Linked DNA regions of Homo sapiens: region 1 is linked to region 2. The links are contacts of gene promoters, found by promoter capture Hi-C in human tissues and cell types (Jung and others, 2019). All regions are on one chromosome and are shown on one strand. Each heading gives the region's core, a stretch centred on a gene start or on the middle of the fragment in contact. The rest is flanking DNA. Distances are from core to core; before and after follow the strand shown. Region 1 holds the start of LOC105372832 (a long non-coding RNA gene). Region 2 holds the start of ICOSLG (inducible T cell costimulator ligand).

Evidence for each region. Contacts are between HindIII fragments. The study calls those that stand out against the background at their distance.
Region 1: a contact is called between a fragment that was not itself captured here and the fragment with the promoter of ICOSLG in region 2, in 2 of the 25 tissues and cell types used here (lymphoblastoid cells and spleen).

The regions. Positions count from the first base shown.
Region 1 is chr21:44,201,439-44,208,198 of GRCh38, forward strand. It overlaps LOC105372832 (a long non-coding RNA gene), which reads right to left and starts at 5,971. Exons shown (of 4, transcript NR_188576.1): 1 at 5,765-5,971; 2 at 5,091-5,352; 3 at 385-519. LOC102725065 (a long non-coding RNA gene) reads left to right here and starts at 1,508. Exons shown (of 3, transcript XR_937789.3): 1 at 1,508-1,595; 2 at 4,680-6,760. RefSeq lists enhancers at 413-1,176, 1,177-1,939, 5,067-6,266 and cis regulatory regions at 5,240-6,305, 5,281-5,781, 5,390-6,439, 6,438-6,760, 6,466-6,760. The HindIII fragment of the contact is 4,473 bases long and covers 1-3,487 here.
Region 2 is chr21:44,239,637-44,246,344 of GRCh38, forward strand. It overlaps ICOSLG (inducible T cell costimulator ligand), which reads right to left and starts at 1,307. Exons shown (of 7, transcript NM_015259.6): 1 at 1,168-1,307. The coding sequence starts at 1,181. It overlaps DNMT3L (DNA methyltransferase 3 like), which reads right to left. Exons shown (of 12, transcript NM_175867.3): 12 at 6,703-6,708. RefSeq lists enhancers at 1-562, 3,067-3,605 and cis regulatory regions at 1,118-2,117, 1,118-2,042, 1,118-2,033. The HindIII fragment of the contact is 7,916 bases long and covers 1-6,708 here.

The DNA.
Region 1 (6,760 bases), core at 1-2,500, 38 kb before region 2:
TCTCAGATTTAATGGCCTCTTGAGGCTAAGAAGCCAAACCAAGGCAGGCTTTAGATTTGACCGATAGCCCTGAGGTTCCTGGGCCTGCCAGATGGTGACAGTTTTTATTTACTCTCGCTGTAAGGCTGGGAACTTTCTTTTTATTTGGAGGGGGGATGGAGTTTTGATCTTGTTGCCCAGGCTGGAGCGCAATGGCGCGATGTTGGCTCACTTCAACCTCTGCCTCCCGGGTTCAAGCGGTTCTCCTGTCTCAGCCTCCCAGGTAGCTGGGATTACAGGCGGCTGTCACCACGCCCAGCTAATTTTAGTATTTTTAGTAGAGATGGGGTTTCACCATGTTGGCCAGGCTGGTCTCAAACTCCTGACACCAGGTGATCTTCCCACCTCAGCCTCCCAAAGTGCTGGGATGATAGGCGTGAGCCAGCGCGGCCGGCCAGGCTTGGAACGCTTGAGGCACATTCTCAGAGACACGATTTCGGTCACAGCCTTGGTAATATGACTGGTGTTTTCAGTTGTAGCCTGTCATGAAAAGAGATTGACACATTACATTTTTGATACTACCTTACGTTTTTCCTGGCCTTTTGTTTATTTTTTATTTATTTATTTTTTAGAGACAGTGTCTCACTGTGGACGTCCAGCCTCTGGAACTGTGAGAGGTACATGTCTGTTATGTAGGCTGCCCAGGCTGTGGAACTGTGTCATAGTGGCCTGAGTGACTTAAGCACCTGCCTGTAGGCCAGGACTGTGGCTCCACAGCCCAGCTTCAAGCCTGGCCGACCAGGGGTTTGGCATGAAGACCCCGGCAGGGCTGGGGCTGTGCTGGAATCCACCCGGAAGTTTCCTGCCCCTTGGGCTGCCCACCAGGTCCCCTTTCTGCTCTGATCAAGCTGGACAAAACGTCGTGGGGCCACAGCACAGGGGGCCAACGCAAGCTGGGATCGTCAGACGTTAGGAAATCCCAAGGAAGAAGAGAAAGGGGACACATTCGGGAGACGTCGGCACACGCTCGAAGCAGCGGACAGGCACCTCTCTGTGGACAAGGCAGACTGGGCGGCCGAGATTCCGCATAGATGCCTGCTTCCTCCACGACCTCCACGTGTGGCTGGCCCAGTCCGGGTCCCCCTCACCTCCTCTGTCTGTCTTGGTGGCCTCACGCCGTGGGCTGTGATGCCGGCTACGCTGCTTGGGTGGCCAAGGGTCTGAGCTGCAAGACGCCCAGCCTGGGTCTCTCCCGAGCTCTCCCACGTCCTGTCTGCTCCTCCTCCGAGCTCCCGGTTGACTCTCACGACTGCACCAGCCTCTCCCCCAGGAAGGCGTGGAAACAACCTCCTTCTCCCAGGCCCGCTCTGCCTCCTGCGTTTCAAGGCAAATCCGTTCCTCCAGGAGATGATGCAACCACATCCTGTTGGAGCCCAGAGAAGTGCGGATGCAGCCCGGGGCTCTTTCTTTCCTAGAACCCTGCCTGGGAGTGGCTTCCCTGAACTAAGGACAGAGACTTTGTCTTCGTTGCCTCTCGGCCTGTGGGCACTGAGCATACAGTAGGTGCTCAGTAAATGCTTGCAGGCCGATGCCCAGAGCCATTAGCCCTCATCATGGTGAGCTCGGCAGCCGGTGTTGGGGCTGGGCTGGGCCTAGGTGTGCGTGGGGGCGGTGCTGGTCTGCTTTGCTGGGAGCCATGGACACCGGAGGAACAGGGCCCCATCAGTGCGGTCAGAGTGCAAACTCGGAGCGTCCTTCTCTGGAAAACGAATCGCAGTGGCCCCGATCTTTGGGGCTTTCTGTGTCCCCTGTGCATGGTTAGAGAAGAGAAAACATGCACTGGTTTCCTGAAAATCCCTAGGATTTCTTCAGAGGTCTCAGCTTCTGCCCACAGCCTCTGGGGAGCAGACCAGGAGCCCCGCAGCACGGGAGTCCCCAGACCCACCCTGACCACAGCCCAGGAATCCCGAAGCAGAGGCTCTGGGTCAGCTTCTGCAGACGCTGGAGAAGGCGGGAGGCTCAGGGCTGGGCCTCCAGGTGTAACCGCCTGATGGGCTCTTCCTGCCCCTGCACAGACAAAACCTCTTCACTGGGCCCAAGGCATTGCTATAAAGAGTTTAATAGACACCAGGCTGGCCATGCCACGTGGGAGATGGAGTTATTACTCAAATCAATCTCCCCCAAGAGACGGAGTTATTACTCAAATCAATCATCTCCCCCAAAATTCTCAGGCTCGGGTTTTTCAAGGATAGTTTGGCAGGCCAGGGAGTCTGCTTCTGGGTGGGGCCACAGGACCCGTTTGTGGCGGGCAGGGGGGTTGGTGTGTCCAAATCCAGGTGGAGCCATCATTGTCAGAAATGCAAAAACCTGAAAAGACACCTCAAAAGGCCGATCTTAGCGTCTACAATAGTGATTCATCCTCAGGAGTAATTGGGGAAGTTGCAAATTGTGTGACCTCCGGAATAATGGCTGTTACAATTTTTGCAAAGGCAGTTTCACAGGGATGAGGCCAGGACAGAGGGCACAGCCCGCTGGGACTCCAGGGCTGCCCCTGCACCCCCCATATCAGCTCAGAGAGGCCTGGTGTCCCCGCTGCCAGGGGTTGACACCCACTGGTACCCCCTGTGGAGCAGCTGTGGGCGGGGGCTCTGCAGGGAGGGTGTCGGGGGGGCCAGGTGAGCCAGCCCAGAGCCATGCCCGCACCTGCTGTGGGCCCTGGCCAGGGCAACCGCTGCCTCTTCCTTTGATGTCCCTACCCTATGCCCCTCTCTTCAGGCCTGTTCTGCCTGACCCCGCTACCTCCATCCGGCTGCCTTCCATGAGCAGCAGCTGCCTCCCCCCCACACCCTTCCTTGGTGGCCCCGCCCCTCTGATCTCCGTGAGCCAGGATCTCCCCCAGGATCCCTATTTCCCACGGGCTTTTGGCAATGGGCTGCTCACCCCCTCCTTCCCCTCCTCCTCATTCATCTGCCATCTGTGAAATGTGGAGGAGGGGCCTGCCCTGTGCCAGGATCTGTGCCCTAGACACTTCCCCAGCCAGGCCCAAGGGCTGAGCGTGAGGCTGGCAGGTCTGCACTTGAGGTGGATGGTGAGGGTGCCCTCGCCCACCTGCAGCCATTGTCTGCTGAGTACCTGTGGTGCAGATGGGGATGGCTGCAGGGGGGTCTCAGCTCACGCAGTATTGCGGCCATGGGTGCTGGACATTGGTAGGTCTCTCTGAGCAGAGCCCGATGGAAGTGAGAAGGGCGTGCGTTAGGGGAGCATTTGGAGAGGGAGCCACGGGTACAGCTGCCCTGCAAGCTCCAGCGCCCATGGGAAAAAGGGACCGAGGGGGAGAGGGGAGGGGATAGGGGGAGGGGAAGGGGATGGGGCGTCGGTGGTTGCTTGGGCTCTTAGGGTGGGGGTGATGCCTGCAGTCTTGGTGTTGAAGGGAAGACCAGGGAAGAGGGAAGGCAGGAGGCCTGGGAGAGAAAGGGAAGAGCTGTTGGGTGCTGGCGGAGTGGAGCGGGCTCTTGCATCACTCCATCCCAGGCTCCACCCTGCCTGCACCTGGAGGCCTCCCTCACCTGGCTCCTCTGTGCTCCAGACCCCTCCCCTTTCCAGGTCCAGGATTCCCCCTGCCCAAACAGCACTGACCAGGCCCCCAGGGCCTGTGCCTGCAGCCCCCAGGGACGGGTGGGCGTAAAAAGATACAGCGGGCCAGGCGGCTCACGCCTGTAATCCCAGCACTTTGGGAGGCCAAGGTGGGTGGATCATGAGGTCAGGAGTTCAAGACCAGCCTGGCCAAGATGGTGAAACCCTGTCTCTACTAAAAATACAAAAAAATTAGCCGGCGTGGTGGCCTGTGCCTGTAATCCCAGCTACTCCGGAGGCTGAGGCAGAGAATTGCTTAAACCTGCAGGGGTGGAGGTTGCAGGGAGCCGAGACCGCACCACTGCACTCCAGCCTGGGCGACAGACCAAGACTCCGTCTCAAAAAAAAAAAAAACAAAAAAACACAGCGGCCATTCTGGGAGCCTTGGAATGACCCTGAGAAGTGAGTGTGAGCATGTCTGGAACACGCAGCCGAGCCTGAAGGAGGACTGGGTGCCTGCAGTGGGAGCCATCTCCCTTCTGGGTTTTCTGATTTTAGCCTCGCGCTGCCTTTGAGCGATTTTCCAATCTGTACATTACAGATAACAGAGAGCAATGCAGATAACTCTTGCTTATAGCCACGTGTAGTGGGTTGACAGTGGCCCCCAAAAGCTATGTGTAAGTCCCGACCCTCATGCCTATGGGGTTGAGCTTATTTGGAAATAGGGTGTTTGTAGATGCGTCATTAGATTAAGGCTTTTTTTTTGTTTTTTTGTTTTGTTTTTTGTTTTATTTTTTTTTTTTTAGGCGGAGTCTCACTCTTGTTGCCCAGGCTGGAGTGCAGTGGCACGATCTCGGCTCACTGCAACCTCTGCCTCCTGGGTTCAAGCAATTCTCCTGCCTCAGCCTCCCAAGTAGCTGGGATTACAGGCACCCACCACCACACCCAGCTAATTTTTGTATTTTTAGTAGAGATGGGGTTTCACTATGCTGGCCAGGCTGGTCTTAAACTCCTGACCTCAGGCAACCTGCCTGCCTTGGCCTCCCAAAGTGCTGGGATTGCAGGCGTGAGTCACCGTGCCCAGACAAATTAAGGCTCTTGAGACGAGGTCATCCTGGGTTATGCAGATGGACCCTGAATCCGACACTAGCACCCGTGTGGAAGGAACGAGAGGGAGATTTGGGGTCCGCAGAGGCAAACCACAGGAGGACGGAGTCGGAGACTGGAGCACCGCGGCCTTGATCGGGGGACACCAGGGCTGCCGGCTGTGCCAGAAGGGGCTGAGGCTGGACCGGATTCTCTCCGAGTTCCCAGAAGGAGCCAGTCCTGCCGACGCCTTGATGCTGGACTCTGGCCTCCAGAAATGTGCGAGGACAAACATCTGCGGTTTCTAGGCCCCGCCTGTGGTCCTCTGTTGCAGCAGCCTGGACAGTCTGGACTGCCTGGACAGCATGCAGATGGGCTCTGCCCGCGGCTGCCCACGAGTTCCCACCGCCCGCCCGTCCGTGGGAGAGCCAGTCCTCGTATGTGAAGCGTACCTGTATCCCTTTACTCCGCGTACACAGGTGCCTTTGTCACTTCTCCTTTGACCTGGCTGGCACATCTTACCGGTTTCTGCGCTAACAATGAGTTGAAGGAAATCTTGAACGCGCGTTCATTTTATATCGGTATCAGAGTCTGTTTATTTCTTGTTGACACTAATCTTTGAGCATGAGTAGTTTAGTGATTGTGAAACAGAAACTTCTGGATACAAAATCAGTCTCCTGGCTGTGACCCAATCATCTTCGCAGTTCTGATTACCTGTGATTAAGAAAATAAATAAGAACACCCATTGGGGGAAGGCTTCCCTCCCCCGGGCACAGCAGCTTTAAAACCGAAAGGGAAGTGGGTGCTGTGAGCAGCTCTGTTCAGGCCTAAGGCCACGCATGTGTGCCCCGTGGGGGAGACATGCACCAGCGAATCAGGAAACAGTGGTGACAGCCGTTCCGGGAGGCTGACTGGGGGTGCAGGGGTCACTTTTCTAATGTGGGTGGGTCTGTGTCCCCTGCAGGAACGTGGCTGCAGCAAAGCCGGTCAGCCAGCGGTCAGCTCCAGCCCCTGTCCAGGCCCTGTGGGTCCTGCTGACCAGGCTGCGGTTGTTCCCAAACCAGTTCCCAGCCCCCGCTTGCCCTACTTCCTCTCACACCAGCTCCTTCCACCCCCTCACACCCACCTGCAGGCTCCCAGCCCAGGCTACTGACATCAATCATGGCAATCGCTATTCCAGAGGTATACGCGGTGGGTGGGGTCCGGTATCGCCTGCCATGCCTCACTCACCGGGCACCCAGATAACCTGAGGCCAGGGAGCAGCCACTCGCCCTGACCCATGCTCCCCGGGCCCCTGAGGCACCCAGGAGGACCACCCGGCCGCTTCTGCTCAGAGCCCAGCACCCCCGAGTCTGTGAAGAGGTCACATCTGACCACGTTTCCAGGTGGCTGCCCAGGCGTGGGTTCATGGCCGCTTCCGGTTTCCTCCTCGAGCTGAACCACACACCTGCTCTGTCCCGGGCTTTCTGGAGGGGTTTTCCGAAGTGAGACTGTGGGCTCCCTCCAGGGCTGGGGGCAGGAGGACACACGGGGAAGGTGGGCAAGCAGCCCCAGGCTGAGGGAGGCCTCCCCTCTGCAGCGTTTGTTCATTCATTTGTTCATCGCTAACACTGTCTTGGGCATCAGGGAAAACAGGTGTCTCTGGTCCACATGCAGAAGAGCCACCACCGTGGCACGACTGGATGACTCAGACCCCGGGCGGGGGGTATGATTTGGACACAGTCATTGTCCAGGGACACAACTTTGCCTGGACCAGAGCTTCTCACCCCCAGGCCATTTGAAACCCCAGGGGATACTCGACAAAGTCCAGAGACATTTTGGGTTGTTCCTTTCCAGCCCCGGCGATGGTGGGGACGTGTCCATGTCTGTGTCCCTCCGGTCACTCTCTCTGGCCCTCTCCCTCCCTGGGGGCAGCTGCTCTCAGCCCTCCCTGCCCCCACATCGCCATCCTGCCTGTCCTTCTGGGCCTGCACGTTTGTTGTGTTTGGAAGGAGCCACCAAGGAGGAGGATGTCAATGTGCAAGTTCTCAGGGAAGCAGGCCCCGCAGCCTCCGTCAGTGTCTTCCGTCCGCAGGAAGAACCCAGGCCTGGGTGATTCATCGGGGCCTCAGGGCCGGGAGGC
Region 2 (6,708 bases), core at 57-2,556:
GGCCTCCAGCAGGCCCCCTGCCTCCACCCTTAGCCCCTTCAAGCATTTCCCCAGAGCCACCATCTAAACGACAGCTGTGAGAACTCCTCTGTGCCCCCATTTGTCTCCCACAGTGCCCATATTCATCACCAGCCCACAAGGCCCCTCCTGTCTATGGAGGCCTCCTCAGGACATCTGGGGGCTTCCTGGGCCAGGGTGGGGGGTGCCTGCTCCAGGCTGTTTCTGGCTTGTCCCCTCCCTGGGTGCTGCCTAAGCAGCGGCCTCTGTGTCCTTTCCTTGGACCCTCAGCACCCCTGCATCTAACCTACCCCCACCCCGAGCTTGCCTCAAGACCCAGCATGGACAGGGCCGCCTACCTGAAGGTGTGGGTGGCGGAGGGCTAAGACATTTGGGAGGGCTATGACATTCCGGGACCTTTAAATTCTTTCTCTCTAGGGCAGGATCATAACTGCATACACTTCTAATGGGGAGGGGACCTGGGGAGTGTGACTCCGGTGTGGCCCAGCTCTGAGCTGTGCGGGAGGCATCCCTGGGGTCAGGGGCCTCACAGGTTCACCCAGGGGAGCACAGGCTGCGGACCCTACAACGTGGGTTGCGAAGAGTATATTTTGGATATTTTCGCAAAAATCCAGGAGGAAGCTGTCACTCCTGGTTCAGGCAGCCCCGCCTTCCCCAGTGTGGATCGGCTGCCGGGCTGCGGGGAATCCCACGTGTGTGGGGGAGGGCGTGTCCGCAGACCGTGGGCACCAGCTGGCCTTGGAGAGCGCTCGGCCGGTCACCTCCCTCCTTCTCCCTTCTTCTAGGAAATCAGCAGTGCCAGGGAGTGGAAGGGGCAGCGCCCGTGCCCCGGCGTGCAGGGTGCGCCCGCCTTCCCTCCCTCCTTCCAGCGTTCGCGGTCCTCCTTCCCTGGCAGGGACCCCGCCCCCGAGCCCGCCCCCGCACGGCTGTGCGTCCTGCCATGGGTCCCGGTGCCAGGCCCCGCCGCCCACTGCCGTCCACGCCCCGCCGGCCGCCCCGGCGCCTCCGCCGCCCGCTCCTCGGACCCGCACTGCCAGCCCGGCACCTCCAGGCGAGCCCCGCAGGCCCCGCGTCCGAGCCGAGCTGGGGACGCGCGGGCCGAGCCACCCCGCCCCTGACCGCGGCGCCTCCGCTCCTTCCCCGGCTCACCTGCCCAGCCGCATGGTGCGGGCGGAGACCTCGGGCCGCGGAGACCTCGGGGCGCGGAGACCTCGGGGCGCGGAGAACTTGGGCCGCGGGAGACCTCGGAGAGGAGCAACCTCGGGGCGCGGGAGATCGGCTCTAACTGCGCTCCCGCCGCGCCCGAGGCTCTGAGCGCCCAGCGCGCGGTGTGCTGGAGGCAGCCGTGTCCCCGCCCCGTCCCCGCCCCGCCCCCGGCCTGGCTCCTCTGGCGACCGAGACCGCCCCGGGACAGGAGGCGGGGCGCTGCGCGGCGGCTCCGGAAAGTTCGGCTCTGCCCAGGCGTGTGCCCGTCGGCCGGAGGCGGGACAGAGGCAGGTCGGCCTGTCCGCCTGGACGCGGACCTGGGCGCCGTAGGTGCCCTGGGAAGCGCAGGGGTGGGGGGTACCCGGCAGGAAGGTGGCCAGGGGTGCTGCGGGTGCCGGCGCAGCGAGGGAGGGCACCGTGGGAGGCAAGGGCCGTTCCCCGCGCCGCGCACAATGCGCCGGTCCTGCGGCCCTCCCCGAGCAGGAGTCCGGGGACCCAGGCCCCAAGGCTGGGAGAGCGCCAGGCCCCTGGCCGGCTGCGCTCCGATGATCTCCAGGACTTAAGGCGAGTGAGCTCAGCGACTGCTGAGGAATGAATGACTGAATGAACGCATGCATGAATGGAAGGAGGGAGGGAAAGTGGGCGGGCTCTACCCTCTGGGCCAGCCCCAGCCCGCCCCCACCTAGCCTTGCTCCCCTAGCCTTCTAGGGGTGTGAAGGGCGCTGGCGCAGCCTCTTTGCTTAACACTGGCTCTGAGGATCCCCCGCCGAGAAACCGAGGCAGGCTTGCGGCTCTGGGCTCGTCAGCCTTGGCAGTGGCGTCTGGCCTGGAGTCTGGGGCAGCTGGTTTGGGAAAGGCTGCACCACGCAACCGAGGGTGGGACCCAGAGTCCCTGCTCCTTCCCCACCGCACCCAGCCCACCCCGCCCTCCCTCCCTGATCCCTGCAAGCCAGGTGAGGCCCAGGGGGGACGTGACTCCCTTTCTGCAGAGGCACCTCCGGAAGGGCCTGGGTGAGGCTGCTAGACAGGGCAGCGGGGCACCCTCCTCCCGGAGCCCCCGCCTCTGGGCTGAGGCTCGGATCCCCACCGCCTCCTGCGCATGGAGGAGGCGAGAAGCGCAGGGAGACGGGGGCCCCAGACGGCACCCCGCAGGCTGCCATTCCTTCAACCAAGATGTAGAGAACGCCGTGGACAAAAGCTTTAAAAAAATTCTGAAACCTCTGCCCGTGGGAAGTCAACATTTTTGCGGAGCAGAGAGCCCAGGCACAAAATAAGAAGGCGGAAGAGACGGGCTGGGGGGATAGGGGGGACGGCGGCGGGGAAGGGCAGGGAGGGCGGCGGCGAAGGCGCAGGAAGCCCTGAAGCCGGGCGGCTTCCCCCTCCCAGGCCACGCTGAGAGACGGGGGTTGGGGGGATTTAAAATCGCGCGCCTGGCAGGGGCGGGGCGGGGGCCACCTGCCCTCCGGCGGGAAGAGCTGGGCAGGGCCCGCGGAGTGCAGGGCGGAGGCACTGGCGGTCCGCACCCGGGTGAGGTGAGGCGCGTAACCGCATCTGAGCCGGACTCTTTAGGACGAGTCCCGTCCCTGGAGTCAGAAAACCCGGTCCAGCGCCAGCGTGGACGTGCGCTTCCCGGGACACGCCCAGGGACGCCGGCTAGGACCGGCGAGGCTGGAGGGGTGGCGATGTTGGGGGCTGAGGTTCCTCGCCCCGGGGCGGGCGGCTGCTGGTAAGGGACCGCATGGCCCCGCAGGTGAGGAGGGCGCAGGTGAGGAGGGCGCAGGTGAGCCGGGCGGGCTGCGGGCAGCGCCACCTCCTCCCGGAGGCCCTCCCTGATTGACCGGCCGGGAACCGCGCGCCTCTGGGCCTGCGGCTGAGGTCCGGGGCTGCGCCGCGCCGATGAGCTGACGCCGGGCCGAGCGCTCCACCCCCAGGGCCGGGCGCACCTGAATCCCCTCCACCCGCGGGACTGCGGAGAGGGGGACGGCCCCCGGATACCGCGTGGGGGCTTTGGGAGGATGGGGAATGGGTCCTGGGGGAGCAGAGCCTCCCAAATTAAGGCCTCCCAAGAGCGCGGCCGGTCATCCGCGGCGGCGAAGGGAAGGTGCCCTGTCGGTGCGTCCGGACCCCGCAGCCCCCCAGTGCCGCCCGGGGGCGGTGGGAGAGGGGCCGACACCGCAGGGCCCGCCGTGCTGTGGCCGAGGGGGCAGGTCCAGGCTCTGCTTCCCGGGCAGACGCCGGAGACCCCAGCAAGCCAAGTGCTGCGGGCAGCCCCCCCCCCGCCCCCCCGAGAGAGGGGACGCCGCGTGGAGGCCACAGCCAGGCAGGGGCAGGAAGGCAGCTGGGCCAGAAGGGGACACTGAGGCAGGCCGAGGCGGCCGCGGGGGAGGGTGCCAGGACCAGCCCAGGAACCTCGGAGACCACGGTAAGCGGTGGCTGGTTCAGATCCCAACTCCGGAGCTGTGTGACCCCAGAAAGTTCCTTAGCCCCTTGGTGCCTGCATCCCCTGACGTGTGACATATACATGAATGGGGCTGTTGTAAGTGAACGCACACAGCACACCGGCACATGTGTCACAACACTTAGATGGGTTTAGATGAAGAAACAGGGAAACCTTTGGGAAGTTTCCTGTAGTCAAAGGAAGGTTTTCGTTTTCCCCCTCAACCGTGACTGTTTCTTGGGCCGGCAGGATAGGCTTTTGTTCTAGGGGTGTGGAGAGAGGGCCCCTTGGCAGCGTCCAGGGCCAACTGGGAACCAAGCAGGAATCGTATTTGTGCAGCCTGGAGTTCGAGGCTCTGGGTGCGAGTCGTAGTGCTTAAGCAGGAAGCAGCTGCCTGATGCCCCTAGCCCCAGGCCGCCCTGCTCTGCCGTTTCGAGGGCGTGGGGGTCTTCTGATCTCCACCTTGATGCACCTCCAGGCCCGGGTCCTTTTGGGGTCTGGCACAGCAACCTGCGTTTGACAGCATGGGCGTCCGCTGATGCTGAGAGCTCAACTTCTGGTCCAAGGAAGATCTTTTCTCTTCGGGGAACAGTCATACATTGTTTAACGAAAAGGATACATTCCTTCTGAGAAATGCGTCCTTAGGTGATTTTGTCCTTGTGTGAACACAGAGTGCACACACTGGCCCTGGTGGCACAGCCTGCTACACGCCGAGGCTGTGTGTCACAGCCTGCTGCTCCAGGGCCACGAGCCTACGCGGCAGGTGACTGTGCTGAATAGCGTAGGCAGCTGTGACTCACTGGTATTTGTGTATCTAAAGCCATCTAAACATAGAACAGGTGCAGTAAAAATACCGCGCTGTGATATGGGAGCACTGTGGCATTGCTTGTTGACCGAAGGTTATGTGGTGCATGACTGTATGTTCGTTTCCTGTGGGCGCTGGAACTAACGACCTCACGCTTGCTGGCTCAAAACAACAGCAGTCTATTCTCTCTCAGCCCTGGAGAGCGGAAGCCTGCCTGGTGGAGGCGCTAGGGGAGTATCCTACCTGCCTCTCCCAGCTCTGGGTGGCCCAGGCATCCCTGTGCTTAGCTCCAGCAGCCGCCTCAGTGGCCATGTGGCTTCTCTGTGTGGTCAAGCCTCACTTTGCCCCTCTCTTATGAGGACCTTTGGGATGACACGTAGAACCCACCTGGATGATCCAGGGAGGCCTTCCACCTCAATTTAATCCCGTCAGCAAAGTCCTTCCTTTGCCACATGAGGTAACATTCACAGGATCCGGGAATGGGGACATGGGCATCCTTTGGAGGGTGGTTCAGCTGAGCATGGGATCATGATACAGGTCCTGTGTATAAAATTCAAATACTTGGCAGGTCGGGCACAGTGGCTCACACCTGTAATTCCAACACTTAGGGAGGCCAAGGTGGGAGGATCACTTGAGCCCAGGAGTTTGAGACCAGCCTGGGCAACAGAGCAAGACCCCATCTCTACAAATAATTTTTAAAAATTAGCAGCGCATGGTAGCATGCACCTGTAGTCCCAGCTACTCCAGAGGCTGAGGCTGGAGGATCTCTTGAGCCCAGGAGACGGAGGCTGCAGTGAGCTATGGTTGTGCCACTGCACTCCAGCCTGGGGGACTAGCTAGACCCTGTCTCAAAAAATAAAAATTTAAAATAAAATACATAGAGAATCTCAAGGTGGTGTGGACAGTTCTGAGTGTTGGGGAGAGAACAAAAGAAGGAAAGTGCATTTTGGGTGGCAGAAAGCCCCTAACAGAGCCTTGGGCCCCTGCTTTGAAGCAGCCCTCACAGAAACTGACCACGAGTTATGTTGGGCCCATGACACTGGTTCCCTGGGTGGACACAGCCTGAGCCCAGCCCGCCCTGTCTGGAGCTCTCACCACCCTGCCTGGCCCGTGCCCATGGGCTCACAATGGCTTCAACCCCATTTATGTGTCAGCTCAAGCAGGCCTCCCCAGAGGGCTCATTTGCACTTGGATGCCCTCACCTGTGCTCCCTCTGTGGCTTCAGGAACCCCGGGGTCATTACAGAGCTTGCTAAATTCATCCCTGGACGTGAGATGTGTGTCGTAAGCATCCAGGACTGTCCCAAGATGGGAGAGGCGTTCAGTCATGTTCACTCAAGTGAAGGCTTCTATTCTACTTCCAGATACACCTTTTTAACCTTCAAAGGGTCCAATTTTAACCTTTCTTCCACAAAGCATTTTACGTACCACTAATAGTCCCAGTGCAGACCCCAAAGTTCCCCTGTAAGATTCATTTCCTGTGATTCGAGCACAGCCTGAGGCAGAGCTTTCTGCTGGGTTTATCCTCACTGAGACTCAGACTGCAGAGGGCCAGGAGGAGCCCTGCTTTTTGCAAGCAATACCACCTGGGGTAGGACCCACAAGTGACATCCTTTGTGCGTGGATCTGGCCTTGGCCTCCGCACCGTCTGTTCAGCAAGTCCCTCCTTTGCCTGCCAAGGCTGAGGTCCTGTACTTTTGTGTGTGGATCTGGCCTTGGCCTCCGCACCGTCTGTTCAGCAGGTCCCTCCTTTGTCTGCCAAGGCTGAGGTCCTGTACTTTTGCAAAGGTCCAGGCTGTTTGGTGCAGCTACAATCAGGGTGCGTGGTTTCTCTATGAACGCAAACAGCGGTCTCAAGGGGAAGGCCCCGGCAGAAAGTGCATCATGCGGGACACGGTGCAGGCGCTCCGAAGACGCCTCCTGCTCACTTCTGGCCTCCACCCCCTGCCCTGCAGGGTGACAGATGGCTGTGCCTACACATAAAACACCAGACGTGACCAATAACTATCTTATAATAAATATACTCGAACTTCTCAACTAGAACACAGAAATGCTTTCAGGAAGTACATCGCGCACCACCACGTGTGGTCCTGTGTGCAGCGGCGTGGGCCTCGCCCCGTCCCATGAGCCAGCGTGATGGGGGAGAGACCCTGAGTCTCCAGAACCCAACGGAACGTGGGTCTGCAGTGACGACGGAGACGCAAAAAAACAAGAATCCGAAGAGGAAAGAGACAACGTGAGGA